4 separate regions of the Homo sapiens genome follow, and regions 2, 3 and 4 are each linked to region 1. The links are contacts of gene promoters, found by promoter capture Hi-C in blood cells and fetal thymus (Javierre and others, 2016). All regions are on one chromosome and are shown on one strand. Each heading gives the region's core, a stretch centred on a gene start or on the middle of the fragment in contact. The rest is flanking DNA. Distances are from core to core; before and after follow the strand shown.

The links. The method cuts DNA at HindIII sites, captures the fragments that hold promoters and counts their contacts. A CHiCAGO score of 5 or more calls a contact.
Region 2: a contact is called between a fragment that was not itself captured here and the fragment with the promoter of FXN in region 1, in 1 of 17 cell types (M0 macrophages). The highest score is 5.7, in M0 macrophages.
Region 3: a fragment that was not itself captured here is called in contact with the fragment with the promoter of FXN in region 1 in 1 of 17 cell types (naive B cells); the score reaches 5.4 in naive B cells.
Region 4: a fragment that was not itself captured here is called in contact with the fragment with the promoter of FXN in region 1 in 1 of 17 cell types (monocytes); the score reaches 7.1 in monocytes.

The regions. Positions count from the first base shown.
Region 1 is chr9:69,034,328-69,039,994 of GRCh38, reverse strand. FXN (frataxin) reads right to left here and starts at 4,243. Exons shown (of 5, transcript NM_000144.5): 1 at 4,048-4,243. The coding sequence starts at 4,212. RefSeq lists silencers at 3,008-3,302, 3,885-4,354 and an enhancer at 3,675-3,724. The HindIII fragment of the contact is 18,212 bases long and covers 1-5,667 here.
Region 2 is chr9:68,492,858-68,498,764 of GRCh38, reverse strand. The region is part of intron 9 of PGM5 (phosphoglucomutase 5); the gene reads right to left. Among named protein-coding and RNA genes, the nearest start is that of TMEM252, 45 kb to the left of the region's middle. The HindIII fragment of the contact is 225 bases long and covers 4,250-4,474 here.
Region 3 is chr9:68,415,020-68,421,340 of GRCh38, reverse strand. The region is part of intron 6 of PGM5 (phosphoglucomutase 5); the gene reads right to left. Among named protein-coding and RNA genes, the nearest start is that of PGM5-AS1, 60 kb to the right of the region's middle. The HindIII fragment of the contact is 2,165 bases long and covers 1,353-3,517 here.
Region 4 is chr9:68,510,116-68,516,239 of GRCh38, reverse strand. All of the region lies in intron 10 of PGM5 (phosphoglucomutase 5), which reads right to left. Among named protein-coding and RNA genes, the nearest start is that of TMEM252, 28 kb to the left of the region's middle. The HindIII fragment of the contact is 1,649 bases long and covers 622-2,270 here.

The DNA.
Region 1 (5,667 bases), core at 2,994-5,493:
TATCATGGGAGTGAAACTAGTTAGGCTTTATAAGAAAAGAAAAAGACACCTGAGGTAGCACACTCAGCCCCTTACCATATGACGCCCGGTGCCGCCTCAATACTCTGCAAAGTCCCCACCAGCAAGAAGGGACTTGACTTTGGACTTCTCAGCCTCCAGAGCAGTAAGAAGAAAATTTTTTACCATATAAATTGCCCAGTTTCAGGTATTCTGTCACAAGCAACAGAAAATGGACTAAGAAACATCCAGTTATCTCCTTCTCGAAGCTGTCTCCGGTATTTAAGAGGAAACGTTAAAGACGCAGCCCCGTCACATCCCTCCATCAAATGGACTAAGACACATCCAGTTATCTCCTCCTCGAAGCTGTCTCCAGTATTTAAGAGGAAACGTTAAAGATGCAGCCCCTGTCACATCCCTCCATCAAAAAACATAGGCTGCCTCGTGGAATCAGAGTCCTTCCCAGCCTCCAGGTAGGTAAGGCTGGGGCTGGGGGCTGTGGGGCTGTGCTTTTAAAAGCCGTTTCTGTGGATTCTTGGTTCTGCTGAGTAGCCAGATCTGAGAACCAATGATCAGGTACTAAATATGCTGTCCCATGTGGTGGTCACCAGCCCCCGTGGCTACTGAGCACTAGAAATGTGGCTAATGGGACTGAGGACCTGGATTTTCAACTTCATTTAATTTTAATTATTTGAGGTGATAATAAAGTAATAAAGTTATTAGGAGCCTTTTTTTTTTTTTTGAGACGGAGTCTCGCTCTGTCGCCCAGGTTGGAAGGCAGTGGTGCGATCTCGGCTCACTGCAACCTCCACCACCTCCCGGGTTCAAGCAATTATCCTGCCTCAGCCTCCTGAGTAGCTGGGATTACAGGTGAGTGCCACCACATCCAGCTAATTTTTGTATTTTTAGTAGAGACGGGGTTTCACCATGTTGGCCAGGCTGGTCTCAAACTCCTGACCTCAGGTGATCCGCCCATCTCAGCCTCCCAAAGTGCTGGGATTACAGGTGTGAGCAACCACACCCAGCCTAGGAGACATTTAAGTGTGTTTGGAACAACTTGACTATGTGAACCTTCATTTTTAATTGTGAATTTTATAAAAGTAAATACAGATAGAGCATTTACTTAGAAATTGTGAATTGAGATATGCTGGAAGTATATGAGTACGAAAAGAGTATGCAAGATATCTTATTACTGATTTTTTTTGTATGTCACAGAATCCCCCAAAATCTTGGCTCACTGCAACCTCTGCCTCCTGGGCTCAAGTGATTCTCATGCCTCAGCCTCCCGAGTAGCTGGGACTACAGGCACCCACCACCATGCTGAGCTAGTTTTTAGTAGAGATGGGGTTTCACCATGTTGGCCAGGCTGGTCTTGAACTCCTGATCTCAGATGATCCACTCGCCTCGGCCTCCCAAAGTCCTGGGATTACAGTCGTGAGCCACCGTGCCTGGTCTCATTACTGATTTTTAAAATACTGATTACATGTTGGAATGATAATATTTTGTATGTACTAGGTTGAATAAATATATTGTTGAAAATGATTTTTTTTTCTTTTTAACTAGAAAATGTAGAATTATGTGTGTGGCTCCCATTCTGTTTCTGTTGAACAGCTGCTTTAGAAGTAGATGCAAGGGGTGGAGAAAAGGGTGGGGAAGAGGCCTTCAAGTGAACTCAGTTTCTGATGAATTTTGGAGACCAGGGGGAGCTTAGGGTCAATCCAGGACAGTCAGGGCTTTAAAATAATTAAACAGGATGGTGGCCCCAGTTGCCACTGCCACCCACCCAACTCCTCAAATACCCAAGATGTGCAAGGGAACTATGGAACAGACAGGTTAAACAAATGTGATTAATTCAGTATAGAAAAAAAGAGGCCCAGCTGGTGACAGAGGTTGCTAACCATCTATCCAGAAACCCAGTGTCCACCTCCTGGGCGGCAGCGCCAAGTTGGGTGTGTTTGTCAGTCAATAGCCCTTAACAGCCACCAGGTACCATCTAAAAAACTGTACCACCTCTTGTCATTCTCCTAAATTAAAAACTCTGCTGATGGCCAGACGCGGTGGCTCACGCCTGTAATTCCAGCACTTTGGGAGGGCGAGGTGGGCGGATCACCTGAGGTTGGGAGTTCGAGACCAGCCTGACCAACATGGAGAAATCTGTCTCTACTAAAAATACAAAATTAGCCGATAATCCCAGCTACTCGGGAGGCTGAGGCAGGAGAATCACTTGAACCCAGGAGGCAGAGGTTGCAGTGAGCTGAGACTGAGCCACTGCACTCCAGCCTGGGCAACAAGAGGGAAACTCTGTCTCAAAAAAACAAAACAAAACACAACTCTGCTGACAACCCATGCTGTCCACACAGGCAGGGGTGGAAGCCCAATACGTGGCAGCTCAGATAGTGCACAGAAGCCAAGTAATAAATGTCTGCTTTCCTAGAGGAGATCTAAGGACCATCATGGCCACACTTGCCTATTTTTCCAGAGATGCTGGGAAATCCATTTTATTTTTTATTTTTATTTATTATTATTATTTTTTGAGACGGAGTCTTGCTCTGTCGCCCAGGCCGGAGTGCATTGGGCGATCTTGGCTTAATGCAACCTCTGCCTCCCGGGCTCAAGCGATTCTCCTGCCGCAGCCTCTGGAGTAGCTGGGATTACAGGCGCGCGACACCACGCCCGGCTAACTTTTCTTTATTTTCTTCTTCTTCTTCTTCTTTTTTTTTTTTTTTTGTATTTTTTAGTAGATACTGGGTTTCACCATGTTGGCCAGGTTAGTCTTGAACTCCGGACCTCAGGTGATCCACCTTCCTAGGCCTCCCAAAGTGCTGAGATTATGGGCATGAGCCACCGCGTCCTGCCAGGAAATCCATTTTCTAAGTCCTAACTTTTAAGCACTGGCAACCAATCCCAAAGTTTCTTCAAACACAATGTGGGCCAAATAACACGTGTGGGAAGTTCAAGCCTAAAGTACAAACTCCGGAGAGCAACACAAATATGGCTTGGACGTGGCCTGCCTCTTTCATCTCCCCTAATACATGCGGCGTACCAGCCACTCTGAAGGGATCCCCTTCCGCCTTCCTGGCCTTTGCCCAGACGGTTCCCTCCTCGTGAAACACCCTCTACCACTTCCTTGGCATCTTCAAGACCCTCATTAAATACCATGTCCTCCCCTTGAGGAATCTTCCTCATCCCCACAGCCATTCTTTGGGTTTCCTCCTTTCAAGCCGTGGCGTAACTGGGTCAGATATTTCTTTGTACCCCCCAAAGGAAGAAAGGGGAACTAATTTGAAGTTCTGAAGACTTTATCTATGTTATTCCCATTTAATCCTCACACCAGGTCCGCAAAATGGGCGTCACCTTTATCTTCTCCCTACAGAAAACAAAGCCACGTCTCAGAGAGGTTAGGGGAATCCCCCAAGGTCACACAGCTCTGCGGAGTGGGGCAGAATCTGGAATAAAGGTCGGGTCAGTTTCCAAAAGCCAGGGCCCCTGCTGCTCTAGCTATTCTGCAGCTCTGAAAGTTTCACCTCGTTCCAGGAAAGCATTTCGTTCAAAAAAATCCAGCCTTGAAAATATTAGGTGTGCGCGCGCCCGTGCGCGCAAACACACACACACAACACACACGCTATATACAGATACACACAGACACACACATTATGTGTATGTATATACTAGCAGATACCATCTATTAATATTACTGAAACAAGTTATCGCAGAGAAGTGACAAGCATGGAGACAGCCGCACACCCCTCGGAACCGGTCCCCTCCACCAGCCTGCCCTGCCTTCGCCCGTGCCTTGACCCGCAGTCGCACCGCAGGACAAAATGTCCCCTTTTCCTTCGGAAAGCAGAAGCCAGTGTAAATGCAACCGGGAGAACCAGAGAAGGGAGTTGCAAGGCCGCTTCCGCCGGGCCGCCCTGAGAAGGAGCGGGGTGAGCTAGTCCAGCGCGCGTACCCGGAGCGACCCCGGCGTGCGCGGCGCCTCCCTGCGCAGGCGTGCGGCGTGCGGCCCGCGGCGTGCGGCCCGCGGCTGTTCCCGGCGCGGATACTTACTGCGCGGCGGGGCGTGCAGGTCGCATCGATGTCGGTGCGCAGGCCACGGCGGCCGCAGAGTGGGGCCAACTCTGCCGGCCGCGGGACCCGGGTGAGGGTCTGGGCCTGGGCTGGGCTGGGTGACGCCAGGAGGCCGGCTACTGCGCGGCGCCCGAGAGTCCACATGCTGCTCCGGGTCTGCCGCCCGCTCCGCCCTCCAGCGCTGGGTGCTGCGGCGACCCCTGGTGGCCACTGGCCGCAGGCACTCTTCTGTGGGGGAGCAGCTAGAGGTTAGACCTCAGGAAGAACTTCCCAGCTTAGCACTATTCGTGCATTTAACAAAAATGGAGAGCCTGCTTTGTGCAAAGCACGGAGTGCAACCAGGACCCCTGACCCAAGGGAGACTGCAGCCTGGTGGCCCGCCGCTTCTAAAATTCTAAACAGGAGGAACTTGGGAGCTGCTGTCTTGCTGGGAAGTGGGTGCATGCACAAATTGAGGCTGCTTGGCCGCCGGTATGGGTTTACAGCAGTTGGGTATGTGGGGCCAGGAGACGGATGCCTTGTGTAAATCTGTACTCTGCCCACTTCCTAGCTGTGTGACCAGAGGGCAAGTTAATTAACCTCTCTGTGCCTTGTTTATAAAATGCGTTTTATAAAAGTTCCTACTTCATAGGATTGTGGTAAGGATAAAATGAGTTAAGCCCTGTAAAGTTTTTTTTGGACAGGGCATGTTCCTGTTAAGTGCACAATAAATATTGTTAATAGATTTTATTGATTGATTGATTGATTGAGACGGAGTCTCGCTCTGTCGCCCAGGCTGGAGGGCAGTGGTGCGATCTCGGCTCACTGCAAGCTCTGCCTCCCGGTTTCACGCCATTCTCCTGCCTCAGCCTCCCGAGTAACTGGGACTACAGGCGCCCGCCACCATGCCTGGCTAATTTTTTGTATTTTTTTTTTTTTTTAGTAGAGACGGGTTTCACCGTGTTAGCCAGGATGGTCTCGATCTACTGACCTCGTGATCCACCCGCCTCATTTATTTGTTTGTTTGAGACAGAGTCTCACTCTGTTGCCCAGGCTGGAGTGCAGTGGTGTGGTCCTGGCTTACTGCAACTTCTCCCTCCCGGGCTCAAGCAGTCTTCCCATTTCAGCCTTCCAAGTAGCTGGGACTACAGGTGTGCACCACCACACCCAGCTAGTTTTTGTATTTTTTGTAGAAAGGGGGTTTCGCTATGTTGCCCAGGGTGGTCTTGAACTTCTAGGCTCAAACGATCTGCCCGCCTGGGCCTCACAAAGTGCTGAGACGACAGGCGTGAGCCACCGTGCCTTGCCTATTGTTGATAGATTTTAAAAGAGAATTTTATTTCTGTTACATATTACAAAGGGATGCAAATTGTGAAAGTTTTCTTCACATTTTATATATGCTTTAGAGGATGTCAAATGTGAGCCGAGTGTGGTAGTGCATGCCTGTGATCTCAGCTACTCAGGAGGCTGAGGCGGGAGGATCACTTGAGCCTGGGAGCTCAAGGCTGCAGTGAGCTATGATTGTGCCTGTGAATAGCCACAGCATTCCAGCCCGGCCATCATAGCAAGATACTGTCTTAAAAAAAAAGAAAATGTCAGTTGTGTACACTTTCCATGGCA
Region 2 (5,907 bases), core at 3,113-5,612, 540 kb after region 1:
CTGGCAAGGGAATGCTCCAGTGAAGTGCCCAGGGCTGGAGCCTCAGCTAGGCTCTGGGGGTAGCCAAGTACACTGCCATCCTCTTGGCTCTGTCTTTTCTTCTGTCAATCGAGAAAAATGACAAGTCTCAATTATTTTAGGAGGTTTATTTGCCAAAGTTAAGGATGCACACCTAGGAGACAGGTCTATGCCTTTCTCCAAAGATGATTTTGAAGGCTCCAAATTTAAAGGGGAAAGGGCAGGATATTGAGAAGTACACAATTTTCATGTAAGAGGTGGGTAGGGAAAAACAGTCATTCATGCCTTTGTCTGGCTCAGTGAATCTGCATTTTTTTTTAACATAAGATGACACAGACAAATGAGGCAGAGGAAAATTGCAGGGAATCTGCATTTTATATAAGATAACAGACAAAACTGGGCCAGGGGAACAATCAGATATGCATTTGTGTCTGGTGGGCCAGGGGTGACTGCATCTATAAACTATCAATTTATATTGCCATGGTGAAATTTTAATAGAAACACCTTTAGTGTAAAGATCTAGCAGCTCACTGGGAATTCCCTTGTGGGCAAAATATGGGGGAGGCATGTAGCTTTTCATCTTGTAGCCATCTTATTTAGGAACCAAAAGGGGGAGGCATGTTTGCGTGACCCAGTTCCCAGCTTGAATTTTCCCTGTGGCTTAATGAGTTTGGGGGTCCCAAGATTGAATTTCCTTTCACACTTCTTACCTGACTTCTTTTTTGGCCTGACCACCAGAGTGGGGTGGGGCCAGAGCTGTGGCCACATCTACTAGTGCTGCCTAGGATTAATTCCTCATTGGCTCAGCACATCTCCATTCGCTATGTATCTCTTCTCAGTAGAGGCAGGGATATTGTAAAATTATGACCATAAGATGATACTGTGACTTCTGTTGAAGGAAATGTGTTCTCCTAAGACAACTGATAAGGTAACTCTTGTAAATAAGCATATTGGCAGGGGCCAGGGGAAGGAAGAGGAGGCAACAAAATAATATATCTGGTGATTTGTTATTTTGGAAAACTTCTATGTCTCAGGAGACATTGATATCAGGCATTCTCCCAAAGCAATTTATCCTTGAAATTTCTCTGGCCTCAAGTCCTGTTTAAGAATAAGCCATTAGTAAAAATATATATACCTGCTGCATATGTGACTGCAATTATTTACCCCCACCCCCATCTGGTGATATCTGCTGGGAGACACTATGGTTCCATCTGAGTGTCTTTATGCTTTTTTCAAGTTGTGTAGGCTTTTTTGTTTCAATCCCCAAATAAATAGCTTTAGTTTCTTTTGGAGTGGTTCAATGTCTGCCACAATTTGTGTAACCAAAGGGAGCTATCTCCCCTACTGGCAACCAATCACTCTGTAATACTGGCTTTGCAGACAGGATGATATTATCCAGGATTTATTCACTGGGCAAACATTTTAGTGTGGCCCTTATGGATTAGGCACTGTGCTAAATCCTGGGTATATGAATATAAAGACACAATAGTTGTCCTCCTTAAGCCTGGAGTAATTTTTTACAACGAACAGAAACTGTCTTCTTAACCACCTTATGCTGCTGGAGAAGTGAATAGTTACAAAATTCCAAATGGAGCAAGTGAAGCAATTACTGACTGTCTACAAATCACTGTATTTCAAGTTACGTTCAAACCTACAATAAATCCCCAAAAGTCTCACAATTATATTGATATTCACAGCCTTGTTTTTACAAACTCTTTTGAAGCTGTTACCTATGTTTAAGCCTACATTCCCGTTGTCACTACACGTGGGGCGCGTGAGCACGTGACTCTGCTCAGAACTATGGCTTACCCATAAATTGGTTAAAGCAATATCTAAGGATGAGGTCCTAACCCACCTGTTGCAGATTCCAAGTCACTTGGGATTACCTCTTCTGATGAGCCCCCAGACTCAACCCTTTGAAGTACCTCCCATTAAACAATTAACATTCTCAGATTCATTTTTGGCCAGTGAGGGGAAATTTAAGAATTCAGGTCATAACAAACTATAAACATGTGTTATCTGCTCATAACTAAGCCTTTTAAAAATGAAATAATGTTATTGTTTTCCCCTGAGGTTAATTATAATGTCTTTGACTATACTACATGCTACATGCCTAGAAGATTGTTAGAACCTATGTCTGGTAGCCTGGAATAGATTTCTCACTTGGAAAGATGACAAAGATGTGAATAGCATGCATCAGCCTACTGGAAATGGTCCAGCATCTTCCCTCTTTCCTAGGAAACTAACCATGAGATCTTAACTGAGAATCCATGTTGCTTTTCAAGACCATTCCAGGTGAGGAACATCATTAATTCTCCTTCTCCACATGGAATGTAAGGGTTTCTTTAGAGCCAGCCTAGTTCTGTGCTGCAACAATCCCAGCACCATGTCTGCTGAGGCCCCCTTTTATGTGTGAATAGCTGTATTGGATTGCTTTGGGATCTGCATGTTCTTTCAACGAACTTAATGAATTTGCAACCCAGACACGAGCCATGTTCTTTCCATCATGTGTCATCACCCAATAGCATTTAAACTATGAAGCCAAAGTTACCACTGACCAAGACTTGCAAAGTTTCCAATTGTTCCTGAATTTCAATGAAAGAATACCAATAATCGCATTTATTTTTTAGGTTATACTAGGGGTTGGCACTATGTAGCCTGTAGGTAAGAAGTTGACCTGCCACCTACTTTTATGAAACAAGTTGTACTGGGGCACAGTCGTGTCCATTCATTTATATCTTGTCTATGGCTGCTTTTGTGCTGCAGTGGCAGAGATGAATAGTTGTGGCAGAGACCATCTAGCCCCCAAGGTATAAAATATTTACTACCTAGCCCTTTACAGAAAATGTTTGCTGACCCCTGGTATAAGGCATTACATTATTCACAACATAGAATACTTGCCTTTTATCCCTACAGCATAAGATAGAAAATATAACCATTTGAATTATCAAAATCTCAGTAGAGAGAAATTATGTTTATGTAGATTGTTATAAGGATATAAAATCCCTCCATTCCCTGGTGTTCCAGCTTCTAGTCATAGGTTCACCTGAACCTGTATTTGGCTCAAATCAACTTACCTCTCACCACCTACTCCTAACATAAATGAATTTATTAAATTGCACTTTAGTTTTATGTTCTCACTTTTACTGCAGGATGCTACAAGCTATGTCTTATAAAATCCACTTTTGTAGTCACTAGTAGAAATATTGTTAGAGGCTGTATGAAGCTCTGCCTGAGACATTCCTTCAAGAGCCAAGTATTAGGAAAGCCTTTCCTTCCCTAAGGAACTTGTATTCTTTTTCTTTCTGACAATAAGAACTTTGTAACTAACCACATTTCCCTTTTCGATATGGCTGCCAGGATACTTAATGCCAAATTTGAGGTTCAGCCCAAGTGGATCCTCATGACTTGCATGACTATAAATTTTTCTTCTTCTGTTCTTGACTCTACTCTTACTTATATATTCCCTAGTCTTGATTTATGTTTCTTATTTATATTCTAACAACTTCATTATGTGTGTTTTTGCCGCCACAAGTCTTGAAGAAACAAGGCTCAGTGAAAATGAATAAAACAAGTTTCCACCGCAGTGTTAACCTTAAAATTTTGGACTTGCTGAGTTATGACTTTGGGTTCTTCATTAGCTAACAAGCTCTGGGAGGACAGAGCCTTATATACCTCATTCATCATCATTTTATCCACATAGCCTAGGACAATGCCTGGCACACTGTAGACCTTCCATAAACACTTGTTGAATGAATGTCACTGCACGTTCGACAACTAAAGTGAGCACCACTGCAGTCCCCCTGAGGCAGTCTCAGAGAGCCTGCCTTCGCATTTAGCAAGGATCCACAGGCTACATGAAAACACATGCACGTTCTTCATGGTGAACTAGAGCTGATGTATCTACCTTGAAGAGTGGTTGCAAAAGATAAACTAAGAAAGTGCCTGGCATAGCATCATCATGGCAGGGCTTGACTGTTTATTCCTCCACCATTTCTCAAGATGTCTTAAGACAAGGGCCAGTTTTGGCTAAAAACAATGGAGTTGAACCATGGTAGGTTCTTGTCCCCAGATGTATGACCTTAGGCAAACCATTAGCTCATTAATTGCAAAATGCTACATATTGAAATCAGTGGGAGGTCTTTAAAAAATGGTGGTGCCTGGCTTTCACCCCAAACATTGTGATTTAATTCTTTTGGGGTGTTACTTGGGAATTAGGATTTTAAAAGCTTTCTGGGTGATTCTAATGTGCAGTAACTAATTGCAATAACCTCTTTTTTCTGGGTCACTTGCCTCATCTATCAAGTGACTGGACTGTGCTACATGTCCCTTATAAGGAAGGTCCCTTTAGGATTTAAGGTTTCATACATAGGCTCTCACTGGGCTGGGACTGTAGGAGGGCTGTTAACACAGTGAGGCTAATAAAACAACTTCATGCCACTGAATCCTGAAAGCTTCCCCCTGGGGCCTTGTCAGCAGCAGAACCACCTCTTGAACCATCTGACATTATTATTTTTTTTTTTTAGCACAGTCTTCGTAGGAATTCCTGGAGCAACTGTGAAAGAATTCATGATATCTCACTAGCCACAGCAGCTAGAGTAGCCGGAATATCCAGGATGACACATAGCCACACACTCAAAAAAGGGAAAAATATGCTCTCCTTTATTAGAAGACAATGTTAATTATGTGGTGGGGAGGAGTGTGGGTATCAAAAGAGCACTTCAGTTCCAGCTTAGTGTTTTCCTTACTTTTCAGTGCCTGTGGTTGTGAGCTTTAATGATGACAGTCGAGTTCTGCTCACCTTAGCTTTGTCCCAGTGAAGAATGATTGATAAAGGATTTCATAACCCTTGTCCATATGCAGCTATCTCCACACAAAAATCCTTCAGTGTGCTTCCAGTTATCACTGTAGCATCTCTTTTTCTCCCTGGATTTGCCCCCTCTTTGATTTGCTGTTTATGAAGAGTCAGTTTGGAAATGATACAAGAATAGCAACTGGATAAACTCAGGCTAGAATGCTGGCTTGGCCACTTTTTTAGCTGGTGGTCTTGAGTCACTTAAGCTCTCTAAGCCTTAGTTTCCTAAAAAGCAGTTGAAAAATAATACAGCCTAGCTTATTGGGTTGTTGTGAGTGTCAGATCTTAACATCCTGAAAGAAGGATCTTAGAGTCATTCTTGCCAATCTCTCTTTTTATTGAAAAGAAAGAAGTTAAAACACTTGCTCAAGGTAACGTATTTAGTAAATGGAGGAGCTTCATTTACTTCCATTTAGGTCTTCTGACTCTAGGCTTACAATCTGAGGTTGAACCATATGCAACTACTGATATTCACACATTGCTTCTCATGCGAAATATCTGAACAATATCTTATGTTTTGTATTTTTCCCAAAGCTGACACAGAGCCTTATGTAGAGTAGGTATCTGATAAATGTTTGATAAATAAATGTTAGGGTTTTTACTATTTTTTTAATTTTAAAAATAAACCCTTGTGTAAATCAATACAGGGAAATCTGTAAGTTGCTAAATACACACAGAGCTGCCAGATATTAGTTTGGAGACTGTAGGACATGTTGTAGCCAGGCAGGGAAGGGTGAACTGTACATTACCAACAGTTATTTGGCAGCATTGGACCTAGTCAAATACTGACTTGGGATGAATTCCAGGGGAAAACAGCATATGGCCCTGCAATCTGGTACAGTGTCGCATATATAGTCAGTTGGCCACAGCAGGCATGTGAACCTGGAGACAGGACAGCCTTGGAAGAGAGAGACTCTGCGAGCCTAACTCAGATCTTATCTCCCACAGGAAATCACAACGATTTATCTGGAAAGCGTCAAGGTGAAGATACTGCTTCGTAACATCTGAACCATATTTTGTAGAAGTGGGCATGC
Region 3 (6,321 bases), core at 1,186-3,685, 620 kb after region 1:
ATAGATAAACAACATCAGGAAACTGCTGTAGCCTCTGAGGCTGGAGCCACCCAACAGGACCCAGCCAGCCACCAGGGGTGAGAGAAGAAGCAGGCCCTAGGCAGAGGCCTATGCAGTGGAACTCCTGGAGATACAGGGCCGATTAGGGGAAGATCAGTGAACGGGGCAGAGTGCAAATGTGAAAATGATCAGTACACACCTCGTCTCCCCTTTGTAACACTATGTACCCTGACATGGACATGTGCACCTACATGTCCACGTGTGCATATGCACACATATACTCATCACACATTATTCGTCGACCTAGCTTTCATCAGCTTTTCCTTTCAGATAAGAAACCATCCATGGACAAAGCATACATCCCAAGTTACATCTATGATCATCATAACACCTTACACTTTATAACACTTCACTGACCCAAAGCACATTCAAAACCATCTGTGCATTTTTATTTTAGCTTTCATAACCACCACATGAGGCAATTGAGGCATTTACATCTTCATTTTATAAACAAGGAAATTTGGAGAGATTAAGGTATCCAAATAATGCATCAAAGAGTCAGGTATGACATCCCAGATTCCTCAAGCACCAAGACCAGGCTCTATGTTGTGTCTCCCGACGAACATCTGAAGGTCATGGGTGTGCACAGTAAGATCTATAGGCTCTAAGGTACCACATCTGGCCATAGATTAATAAACAAGGCTATACTAAACTAATTGCTGGCAATAGTCAGCCTCTCAATTCTTTATACTTCATATAACCCATTTTAAGAAAATGTCATCACAATGATCATTTGTATAGTACGTGACAGTTTACCATGTGCCTCCGTATTTCCACATTTGATGTAATATTCCTAAAATACAGCATGCTAAATACCCATATCTAACTGGCATGCATTGTGAGCGAATAAGCTCAAGGTCAGTGGAGCCATTTTTACAGTCCTCATAGATAATATGAACCTTGCATCCTACTTCATGAATTCAAAGGGGTCAGTTTCCTTCAGTTGTACTCAAGATCACAAGCAGAGAATTTTTCTTCAGATGTGACCTACTTCTGACTACTCCTCCAACCCACAGAATCACAGATGACAAAGCAGCTCTGACTCTGTCTTTGAGCCACACCAAGCCTCAGAGGTTTGCTGCTGGGAGGAACATAACTCTAGGGTCTTCGGAGCCCCCAGAGGGAGAGCTGAGCTGAGACTGCCATCAATACAGCAGGAATGGCTGAGCCCATTAAATAGCAGGAATTCCTCTAGGTGTACGTTTTCAGCTTGATGATACCTTGATTTGGTGTGCAAGCAGTGACAGGTCCAAACACTGGGGTCAAGACATTTTCCATGCACTTGAAAAGCTTCCTTAAGTGAGACTACAGATCAAAGGCAGCTACGCCATTTGGTAGGGAGCATTCAAAGCCTGATGGGAATCTGATTTTAACAGACAGTCTTCCAGCAGCATTAACACTCTGTAGAATGGAGATGAGGGGGATATCTCAACAATGTGAGGCTCTAACAGAATTCTGTCAAGAGGGGAAAAGGCCATCCACTGCAAAAGAGGCACAAATCCTGCCCTAGATGTTACACTGAAAATTCTTTGATTTCTACCACAAAATTATTCTGTCTTGGCTCTGAGATAACTGACATTGCCAGACTGGGGGCATTTAAATGCTAAGTAAAGACAGCAATAGATGCTGGTTACCAGGGAATGCTTCTAAGCAAAGCTAAGTCTCTGAGAGGATCAGCAGAGGAATTGTGGAGCCATCCTAGTCCTACTTTCTTTCCCCGGACCCCTAAAGTATGGCTTCTTCTGCCTCAGTTTTAAAATGCCCCAGCTCGGTCTGAAGCAGTACCTACTCTGATCATGGCCAAATCCTCCCCACAACCAATTCCTCCCAACCAGGATGCCCTTCTTTTCTAGACACCTGACTGGTGGAAATGGAGGGGGAGAAGCAAAGATAAGGGCTGGGAGCTCAGCATTAAACCTATTTGTGTTTTGCTGTTTTGCCCATAAAATGGCCAGTGATGGAGACCCCATATATTCATTGAAAATTGCCAGCAGTCTTAGAACTTTAAAACTTGGTGGAAAAAAAAAGTTAAAACATATTATCTTCTATTCATCTTCTTTCTTAGACAACAAAATCTACACATCATGGTGCCTGTATCTTACTCCTAATTAAAAATTAATAATCAGCTATGGAATTGAGATCAATTGTGTGTTACATTTAATCAAAGGTATTTCACCAGATTTCTTTGATCTGATTTTTCTGTTGAGATTTTAAAGCAGAGGTTTATTTCCACCTATACTTTGGGGCAGGGGCGCACCTTGTAAAGTATTAAGTAAAAGTTCCAGCCATTTTGAAACGGGCCACCTGATCTTTACCACATTCTCTTTTTCAGCCGACTATAAAGCTCGCATAAGCCTGGTTCCTCCTGCGGTATCATTTTACCCTCTGAACTTCATCTCCCAACACCTCCTTACTCTCTCTGACTCTGACACCCCAAGCAAGAGGCCATGGGGTGCTAGAGGGGGTTTAGGCTGGTGACCCGGCAGGGGTTCCCAGGAGAAGGAGAAAGCGGGCTTGACAAGGGAGCTGTTCATCTCCCACCCCCGCCGCAGCCAGCTGATAAGACCCCCAGGGCTCAGAGGGCATTCAGAAGGAGCCATCACAGGCGCAGAAACCACAGCGCAGCCAGTCAAGTCGTCCTGCCAAACAGCAGGCCGCAGCAAGGTGAGAAACACAGGGGAAGGCTGCAGCAGCAGCTGCAGCATCGGAGATTTCTTCTGCTTGAACACAAAGCATCCTTTCTCCTGTCGCCTTTTCAGTTTAGGACAAGCTATCAGTAACAGAGTCTGATTTCCAAAGCACTTCTCTCTCACACCCTCAATGCAGCAGGGTGTTAACTAAAAGGTCTGCAGGCTAAAAATAATACCACTTGTCTGTAAAGCTGAGCGCAGGAACAGAGTCAGGTTCTGAACTCAGATACCTTGTCTAAGCCAAAGTAGAATGGGAGGTGACAGAAACCCCATGGGGCTAATTCCCAGAGGATCCCTTCCTAAGTCCACAGAGTAAATACAACAACATTCTAGTTGATTTGCCCAGTGAAATGGGACACTTTTGTGGGCAGGCTGATATGACTCCTAAGCTCAAGACACCTTTAGTCAAATTCAACAAACAAAATGGAATCACGCCAGCAGGTGACTATAGGAAGACATATGGGGATGTGATATAGTGAAGGACAAAGTGGAGAGAATGGCCCTTGGTGGCCCCCAAAGCAGCTCAGCCTCTTGTCAGGGGAGAAACAGCAAAACAAGAGAGAGATCAAAGACAGAAGAATTAAGTTCGCTGCTCCCTGGTGGTATCAGAGAGAGCTTTGGCAATTGTGCATCTCAATTGAAGTGTAAGGCACACAGGGAACAGTTACTGCCAGAGGTTTCCATAACACAGAAAGTGAAATCAAAGTAGCCCAAGAAACCAGAGACAGGGGAGAGACATGGTCCAACTGAGGCAGAGCTAGAAAGCTTTACCTGACTTCCTCCAAGGTCTAGCATCAGATCCCAAGAAATCTGGGTGGCCGCATAGAACAATCTTTCAAGACAGGCAGGAAAAGGAGTAAGGCCTCAGCGGCTATAGCTGAAGCAAATAAGTTTTGAAGACAGGAGTTGCCCCAGAATTGTGTCGCATTTATATGCTTTCTTGTCTCTTCCTGCTTGATGAGGTGTGTAATGTACTAATCTCCAACATTAATTTTACTTCTCAATATACTTTGGGGTTAAAAATGCCTATCCTATATTTTGAATATCACCCTGAATGATGGAAATGAAAGGATACGCAGCTCAATGTTCCATGACATGGATCATCCAGGATAATTGATCAAAAATTTCCACTAATGAAGATACAACACAAGCATTTCACACGTCCCCCGGGCCCAGGGGAAGTACAGCTCAAGATCTCCTAGATTTGACAGGGATCTAGGGGGCAGTAAAGAGCTTCTTGGGGCTAATCACATATGCTTCTCAGCAGGATCAGCCTGAAAGCTGAAGGCATAACCCATTGTCAATGAAGGGACCTCCAAACATGGCTCTGTTATTATGTCTCACTGTATTTTGACAAGGAAACCCTGTTTCATGGGACCTTCTGCAAAACCTAACTTAAAAATTGTGCCTACTTTACCTAGCTGTGCTGCAGATGGTCCTAAAGATACCAGTAGGCCCGTATCCGATTCAGAGAGTGTTTGTCTTATCAGCATGGAGAACTTAGCAGCTGGATGGTGAACTCGTTGAACATAGGCTGGCCAGTCTTCACACCTCCCGTTGGTATTTGATCTTGGCTTTCCAGCCAACCTACTGAACCCCGTTAGGAAAAAAAATCTGTCAACATTCAGAGCTGAAGAGGAAATAGCATTTTTGAGATAAAATTTTCTTTGTAGCAGATGTATATTTTATTAGCTTTATCAGTGTCTTTTCTCAATAGAGTTCCACAGCAGTAGGCTGTAAAATAACAAAATCACACATAATCACAAAAGCTAGAATCACCTCTTTGAGGTTGCCTGCTTAAAGAGACCAAACAGAAAGCCCGAGAATTGAGCACATTTCTGAGATATTCTGCTGCAATTGTGTAAGATTTGTCTGCAAGCCTTAATTTTCTCATTACCTACTTTTTATAAGTGAGGCACAAATAATTGGAACTGCTTATATAGGGAAAATTGTTGAGGCTTTAAAATGTCTCAACGCCAAATGAGAAGAAAGAGAATACATATTCTTTAGTCTTAATTTGGTTCCCCAGGAGTAAACTTGAATCCTGAAAGAAGAATTCAAACTCACATAGTTTATTTTGTAGGGAGGAAGGGAATGAAGAGAACACAGGTAGGGAAGAAGAGAAATAAGACAAGGAAGAGAAGAAAATTAATAAAGATAGGCTTCTCAAGCCAATTACCACAGTAGGCAACTGAAACTTAATCCTGCATGAGCACGCTAGGGGCCCATGAAAAACACATGCCTCAGGGTCCCCCAAGGGTTAAAGGAGCTGACGTATTTATACACCAACATCATCATGCACTACTGCCGGAATCCCAACAGAGCCATCCATCACTTCTTAGATGGACTCCCTTTGGCTCAAAGCACTTCACCTAGTATTTACTTTTCTCTTACTATTTCATCTTTTTTTGTGGATGACAGGAAATCACTGGCTAACCAATAATCAGATAAGCAGAGCATTTGTGGAAGGAATTCCTCACTCTACATCTTCTCATGAGCATGGTTAATTTATCTCAGATCTGATAGCAATTCCACTTACTTAGAATTTGGATGTCATTCAGTACACACCAGGCCACAACTGAACTGGACAGCCCCTTTTAAATTTCAACAATACTAACATCTCTCACAATAGTTTCTAGCTCCCAGAAAACATAATTTCTATTCTGAAAGAGGATGGGATTAATTCAATTAATTTCAATTCAACAAAATGTACCTATGTATTTATGTATGCTATAGCTAAAATACCATTAGTGTGTGTAGATGATAGATAGATAAGATAGATAGATAGATAGATAGATAGATAGATAGATATTCCCTGCCTTAACAAATTTATAATCAAGAGTTGAAGTAGAAATGTATAAAAATACTATAAAACAAGGCATATTACAATTACTCAAAGCATAAATAAACAAGGTGCTATGCACCATTAAGGAGAGAGCAATAAATTCCAACCAGGTGAAAATGAAGGAAATTTCATTTCCTTCAGAAATGACATGAATTTGAGTTATGTCTAAGTAAAGTTGGCTCCTGTCCCTAACTGCAAGCTCCCTACCTGTGGTCAAGGTCATGGCTTCAGCTGTCCACATTTCTGTGTCCATGTTCCAGGGGATTCCTCCAGGTTCCAGGCTGTGCTTTGAATCCCCTTGACTGTAGTCAGGTGTCCCCATTGTCAGCCCTGAGGCTCTTCCCTGAATTCCCCTGCTGGCCTCTGCCCTGCTGGATCCTGCCAGCCTTTGGCTTCAGGGTCTCCCTGCTCACTGCCTCTCAGAACAACCACCTCAGTTCCTCTCTCTGAGAGGTGTGGGCAGATCCCACACTGCCCAGAGCTCTGCCCAGTTCTCTAGGTCTTCAGACTTTGACCTGGCCCAGGTTTTTCATCTGCATATGAGGAGCAACTGGACACCGGACAGTGGTAGGCCTTGAATGACCAGAAAGTAAATGGACAGGAAGCCAGACAGACTTTGCATGGAATGTGGAAAAGTCCAGAGAAGAATTGGCTCCTTATGACATGAAGAATGAATGAGGTCCCAGCACATAACATGGTGCCTTCTTTTCCCCAGTCCCCTGGCTA
Region 4 (6,124 bases), core at 197-2,696, 520 kb after region 1:
TACTCCAATTTACTTTTTATAGGTGGGTGAGCACCCCCATATTTTTTGATGGCACATAATAAGGACCTTAGTTAAGGTCTTGGGCTCTGAGGCCCAAATCTAGGTTCAAATACCAGGGACACTGTTTAGAAACAGTAGATTGTTCAAATTCTCAGGGCCAAAGTTTTCTTATTTGTAAAACATGGATGGATAGCATGACTACCTATAGCATTGGATTGTGGTGAGAATGAGATATAACACACACAAAACACATAGCATTCTGCCTAGCCCCCATACGGGGCAAGCACTTGATACTATTGTTATTATTATTATTACCATTATCATCATCATTGAAGACAGAAGCCTGACTTGCTATTAATAGAAAAGTAGGCTACAGGTGAGTGGACCAGCATACCAGTCCCAATAAGCTGACCTTTGGTAGATAGTCAACAACCCTTCTAGCTTAAGTTTATTTGCCCATAAAATAAAGTTCATGTTATCTTTTTGATAAAAGATAAAATAAAAAGAGATTAAGAATGTTGGGGTGTTCCCAGCTCTTGGAGTGAGAAAGCCACTCAAATCAGAGGCAACATCTCTCTGTGTCAGCAAGAGGGTCAGTGACACACCCAGTGGGGGAAAGCTTGCCTGCATTTCTGTTTGTGTGCAACAGGCCCTATATATCCAGCCAGAGAGAGTACAATCAGATTGCAGTTGCGTAAGGTGATGTTGACAACAGAAGGAACAGACATCATAGCTTTTGGAACACATTCCTTAAGGGTGTATCAGATTCTAAAGAAGTTAGCAAGGACTTCCACATTGAGCAAAGCTGAGTGGCAGAGTTGAGTAGCAGAAGCAAACTAGAAGAGAACTTCTGCCGTGAGGGCCACCTGAGTCTTACGGAGGAGGCAGTAGTGGGACAGTCATTAACACCAGGCACTAAAAACATGGAAATGAGCCCTGTAAACGAGGAGAGACTCTTCCCCACAATAGAAAGACTATTAGTGAAATTAATGGATGGTTAATGCACACTTTATGAATGCAGTTTGGACAAAGGAACATGTTCTTTTATGGCCTTTGCCTTTAGACTCAGCTGCCATTTAACCTAACATATTTAAAGTGTTTTAAATAATTGACCTTTTCCTAGTAATTGAAGTGTGCTAGACTGTCTACCCACAATTTTAGCAAGGCTTTGTGCCTTGGCAAAATCAAATTAGAACTTTCTTTACCTCATCCACTGTTATTTTGAATCTCTCAGCTCAACTAGTATAATTGTGTGAAGAAAACTGTCTAACACTGCTGAGTTGATATTGAGAAAGGGTTTCTATGGAGATGCAACTTGAAACTGATTTTCTTGTTTCTTTTTTTGTTAATTGACCTGAGAAGCAGGAACAAGTCTTCAAGGATCTTGGCACATTTGTCTGGGTTATTTTCTGCATGCTTTATGATTTTCCTAAATGAGGAAGAAATAGAGGCCAGGCACCCCTATAAATGCATCCTATTTAGTTTGGCATTAGAGGGTTTGTCTGGTGTGGAGACAATGTCAGTCCTGCTAAGCAGAGGTGGAAATAAGGATCCCAAAGGTCATCCATCACAGGACTTCTTGCCCTTTTTTCCCTCCAGTTTTGTTGTTGTTGTTGTTTGTTTGCTTGTTTTTTTGAGATGGAGTCTCACTCTGTCACACAAGCTGGAGTGCAGTGGTGCAATCTTGGTTCACCACAACCTCCACCGCCTCCCAGGTTCAAGCGATTCTCCTGCCTCAGCCTCCTGAGTAGCTGGGATTACAGGCACCTGCCACCATGCCCAGCCAATTTTTATATTTTTAGTAGAGAAGGGGTTTCACCATGTTGGCCAGGCTGGTCTCGAACTCCTGACCTCAGGTGATTCACCCGTCTCAGCCTCCCAAAGTGCTGGGATTGGAGGTTTAAGCCAGTACAGCCAGCATCAGTTTTCTTTTTTTAGAGATAGGGCCTCCTTAAGTTGCCCATGCTGGTCTTCAACTCCTAAGCACAAGGGATCCTCCCCACCTCAGCCTCCTGAGTAGATGGCACTTTATAGGCTAATGCCACCACGCCCAGCATTAGGACTTCTCAAACTTTAATGTGCACATGAATCACCTGAGGAGCTTGTTAAAATACAGAATCTGAGTCAGTAGATCTGGGTTGGGGCCCGAGATTCTGCATTTCTAAGTAGCAACCAGGTGATGTTGATGCTGCTAGTCCAAGAACTACCTTTAGTGTAGCAAAAGTATAAAGCGCTGTTAAAAACAGTGTAAAAGTACTTTCTTTTAAGCTTTTTATCAAATCTTATCCATTAAAAGGAAAGTGAATTCATAATGACTGCAAATTCTGAAAAACATGGGCTGATATGAGTCAGAGCCAGCGGCTTGATTCAACAATATAGAAACACTTACATGGTCAAAGACAGTCTAAAATGTATAACTGGGAAATCTCAGTATATCATCAAAGTATCTTAGCTTTTGTTAAACACCACACTGACTGTCCTGACTGTAATTCCCAAGAATATAATTAAAAGCAAAGAAAGAAAGAATAAAAACAACAGAATTGCTACTTCCTAGGGAAATGGGGTGAGGTTCCTTGGAGACTGGGTTTGAGGATCACTGTTAATGTGACTGAAATGCACTAGAACCTTGTTATCAGCTCCCGGAAGCCCCATTCACAGGGACATGCAATGTCACAGCACTCCCTGGCTTGGGGTCACTACTGAATGTCACGTGTTTGCTTCCCTTTCTTTGTAAGAATTCACCAGGGCTCATATTCATACTTTTCTTTTTTCATCCCATTTATTTCTTAACGTTTTTCCCTTTTCTTCTGACATAGTGCTGCTCTTCTGAAAATCATGTGTAAGCAATTGCTTTAAAAAGAAAAATGAAGAACCCTTCTGACAAGAAACAAAAGACCTGAAAAAGGAATTTGATTTCATGAATACAAACATAATCATTTCCCTTTCATGTTTGGTTGCAATCAAAAGCTATGGAGTTCAACCTCAGAAGCCTCATGCTGGAGATTTCCAGAGAGATTTGATATTTTTTTCCCTAAAACTTCACAATTCATCTATGTATACAAATATACACAAATACAAATGTAATTTTGAAATTTATAGTGTGTATGGTTTACCCAAACTCATGTTGATACATGCTGTACTGAATGTAATCAGAAATTGTAAATAACGTGTCATATTCAGAAACCTATAAGGCAAGGATCAACAAATTATAGGCCTTAGGCCAAACCCTGGCCACCACCTGGTTTTGGTGCAGCCATAAAAATGGTTTTTATGTTTAATGGTTGGGAAAAAAATAAGATTTTGTGACATGTTAAAATTATCTTAAGTCAATTACAGTGCCTATAGTTTTATTGGAATATAGCTTCACTAATTCATTTATGTATTACCTGTGGCGGCTTTTGTGCAACAGTGGCAGTTGAGAAGTTGTAACACAGACCATACGACTAATATTATGGGTTGAATTTGTCTTCCATAAGTGCATACGTTGAGGTCCTAATTGCCAATACCTCAGAATGTGACATTATTTTAAGACGGGGCCTTTACAGAGGTACTCATGTTAAAATGAGATCATTAGGGTGAGGTCTAATCCAATATGACTGGTGTCCTTATTAAAAGGGGAAATTTGGACCCAGAGACACACAAGAAGGAAGATGATAATGAAGAGATACAGGGAAAAGACAGCCATCTATGAGCCAAAAAGAGAGGCATGGAACAGATCAACAGATCCTTCCCTCACAGCCCTCAGAGGGAACCAGCTCTGTCAACACACTCATCTCAGACTTCTAACCTCCAGAATAAGAAACAAGTTCTTGCTTTGTAAGCCACCCAGTTTGTGGTACTTTGTTATATCAGCCCTAGCAAACTAATACAGCTAGCAAAGCCTAAACTATTTACTCTCTGGGCCTATTCAGAAAAAACTTGACTCCTGCTCCAAGGGACCAGTTTTTCTGTTTAATCCCTTGAAGCCAGAGAGCACATGCCTCCTGGCTAGTCAAAGAAACTTCAGGCATCCTTTCTTCAATGAACCTGCCTTTCATCACACACCCACTCCAGTGTTCAAGCCCTTTCTCTCTGGTAAAAGAGCTTGGAACAACCAACAGATTGCACATTATTTGGATGAAATGAAATCATTGAACAACCCCTACTCACTACCTCTTACTCCAAGCCAGGAGGGCAGTGAATTTGTTCCATGAATGGAGAGACAAGTAGAGAAACTCCACTTCATCCTTGAACCTTCTGACAAAGCATGGTACATCTAAAATGCCATGTCATGAGAGCCCTGGGAGCTCTCAGAGAAGACCTAGGTTTTTAGAAGCTGTCAGTTCTCTTGGGACATTTCTCATAGATCCAGTTTGGTCTCTGAGATGTTAATGGGAGGGAAAAGGACAAGTCAATTGCATTATAAAACAAATTGCTAAGTAATCTGGGAATCTTTTATCCTCATGTGATAAGAAAATGAGTCAATACCATTATTAATAAAAATAATGGTGGTGAAACCCCTTCTCTACTAAAAATACAAAAATTAGCCAGGCATGGTGACGCATGCCTGTAGTCCCAGCTGCTCAGGAAGCTGAGGCAGGAGAATTGCTTGAACCTGGGAGGTGGAGGTTGCAGTGAGCTGAGATTGCACCACTGCACTCCAGCCTGGTGACAGAGTGAGACTCCATCTAAAAAAAAAAAAAAAAAAAAAAAAAGGCAAAAACAATAACATTAGTGACAATCAACATTTATTGAACATTTATTCACATGTCAGGTATAAACCAAAAATATAATTCTAAGCCCCAAACTGACTGAATGGACATCTCCTCCCTGCCCCTAATCATTGGCCAAAAGGATCCCGAAAACTAGTTCAGGCCATAACAGGAAAAGGGCGTAGCATATGCCTCAATATATCCTCCTCTCTGGAGCTTAGCTGTTGACATTTAGAGATTCTAGGACTGACAGAACAGACTCTTTGTAGCAGTAAGATACCAAATTCCAACCTGACCCTGATATAGCATCAGATGACAGATAACAGGCACTGAAGGAAATCAAAGCATCTTACCCCAAAATATATTTCTTTGACGTAATTTGGAATGGCTCTACAAAGCCATCTTTTGTGGGGGAAATCGGCCTTCTGTAGAGAATCCCCTTCCCTTGCTAGATCTTCTCTGGAGAGTCTGACACCTTTTGAGGTCTAATAAGAGACATTTACCTTCTATTCTCTCTGAAGCCTGCTACTTAGAGGCTTCATCCACATAACAAGAACCTCAGCTTCCACAACTTTCTTTATCTTAACTCAAGCATTTGTTTATACTGACTTTACCTCTTCAGACAAAGCTTAGATTTTTCAACCAATTGCCAATCAGAAAATCTTTGAATCCACCTATGACCTGGAAGCCTCCCCTTCTTTGACATGTCCTGTTTTTCTGGGCCAGGCCAATATATACTTTACATGTGTTGCTTGTGTCTTTGCCTGTAACTTTTATCTTCCTAAAATGTATAAAACCAAGTGTAACCCAACCACCTTGGGCACATGTTCTCAGGACCTCCTGAGGCTGTGTCACAGGCCATGACCTTTAACCTGGCAAAGTAAACCTCTAAAACGATTGAGACTCATCTTGGTCATTTTCTTTGATTTACACAGGCATTGTACAAAACTCTTTACATATATGAATTATCTGATTTAATCATTACAACAATATAAAATAAGAAGTATATCTATCTCAATTTGACTGATATTAAGTTGCCCAAGATCACAAAACTGGAAAATGGCAGAACTAGGACTCAAAACAAAAATAACTGATTTCGGCCAGGCACGGTGGCTCAAGCCTGTAATCCCAGCACTTTGGGAGGCTGAGGTGGGCGGATCACGAGGTCAGGAGATCGAGACCATCCTGACTAACATGGTGAAAGCCCATCTCTACTAAAAATACAAAAATTTAGCCGGGCGTGGTGGCGGGTGCGTGTAGTCCCAGCTACTTGGGAGGCTGAGGCAGGAGAAGGGCGTGAACCCAGGAGGCGGAGCTTGCAGTGAGCTGAGATTGCGCCACTGCACTCCAGCCTGAGTGACAGAGCGAGGCTCTGTCTCAAAAAAAAAAAAAAAAAAAAAAATGCTGATTTCAAAGCCCAACCTTTGTATCAG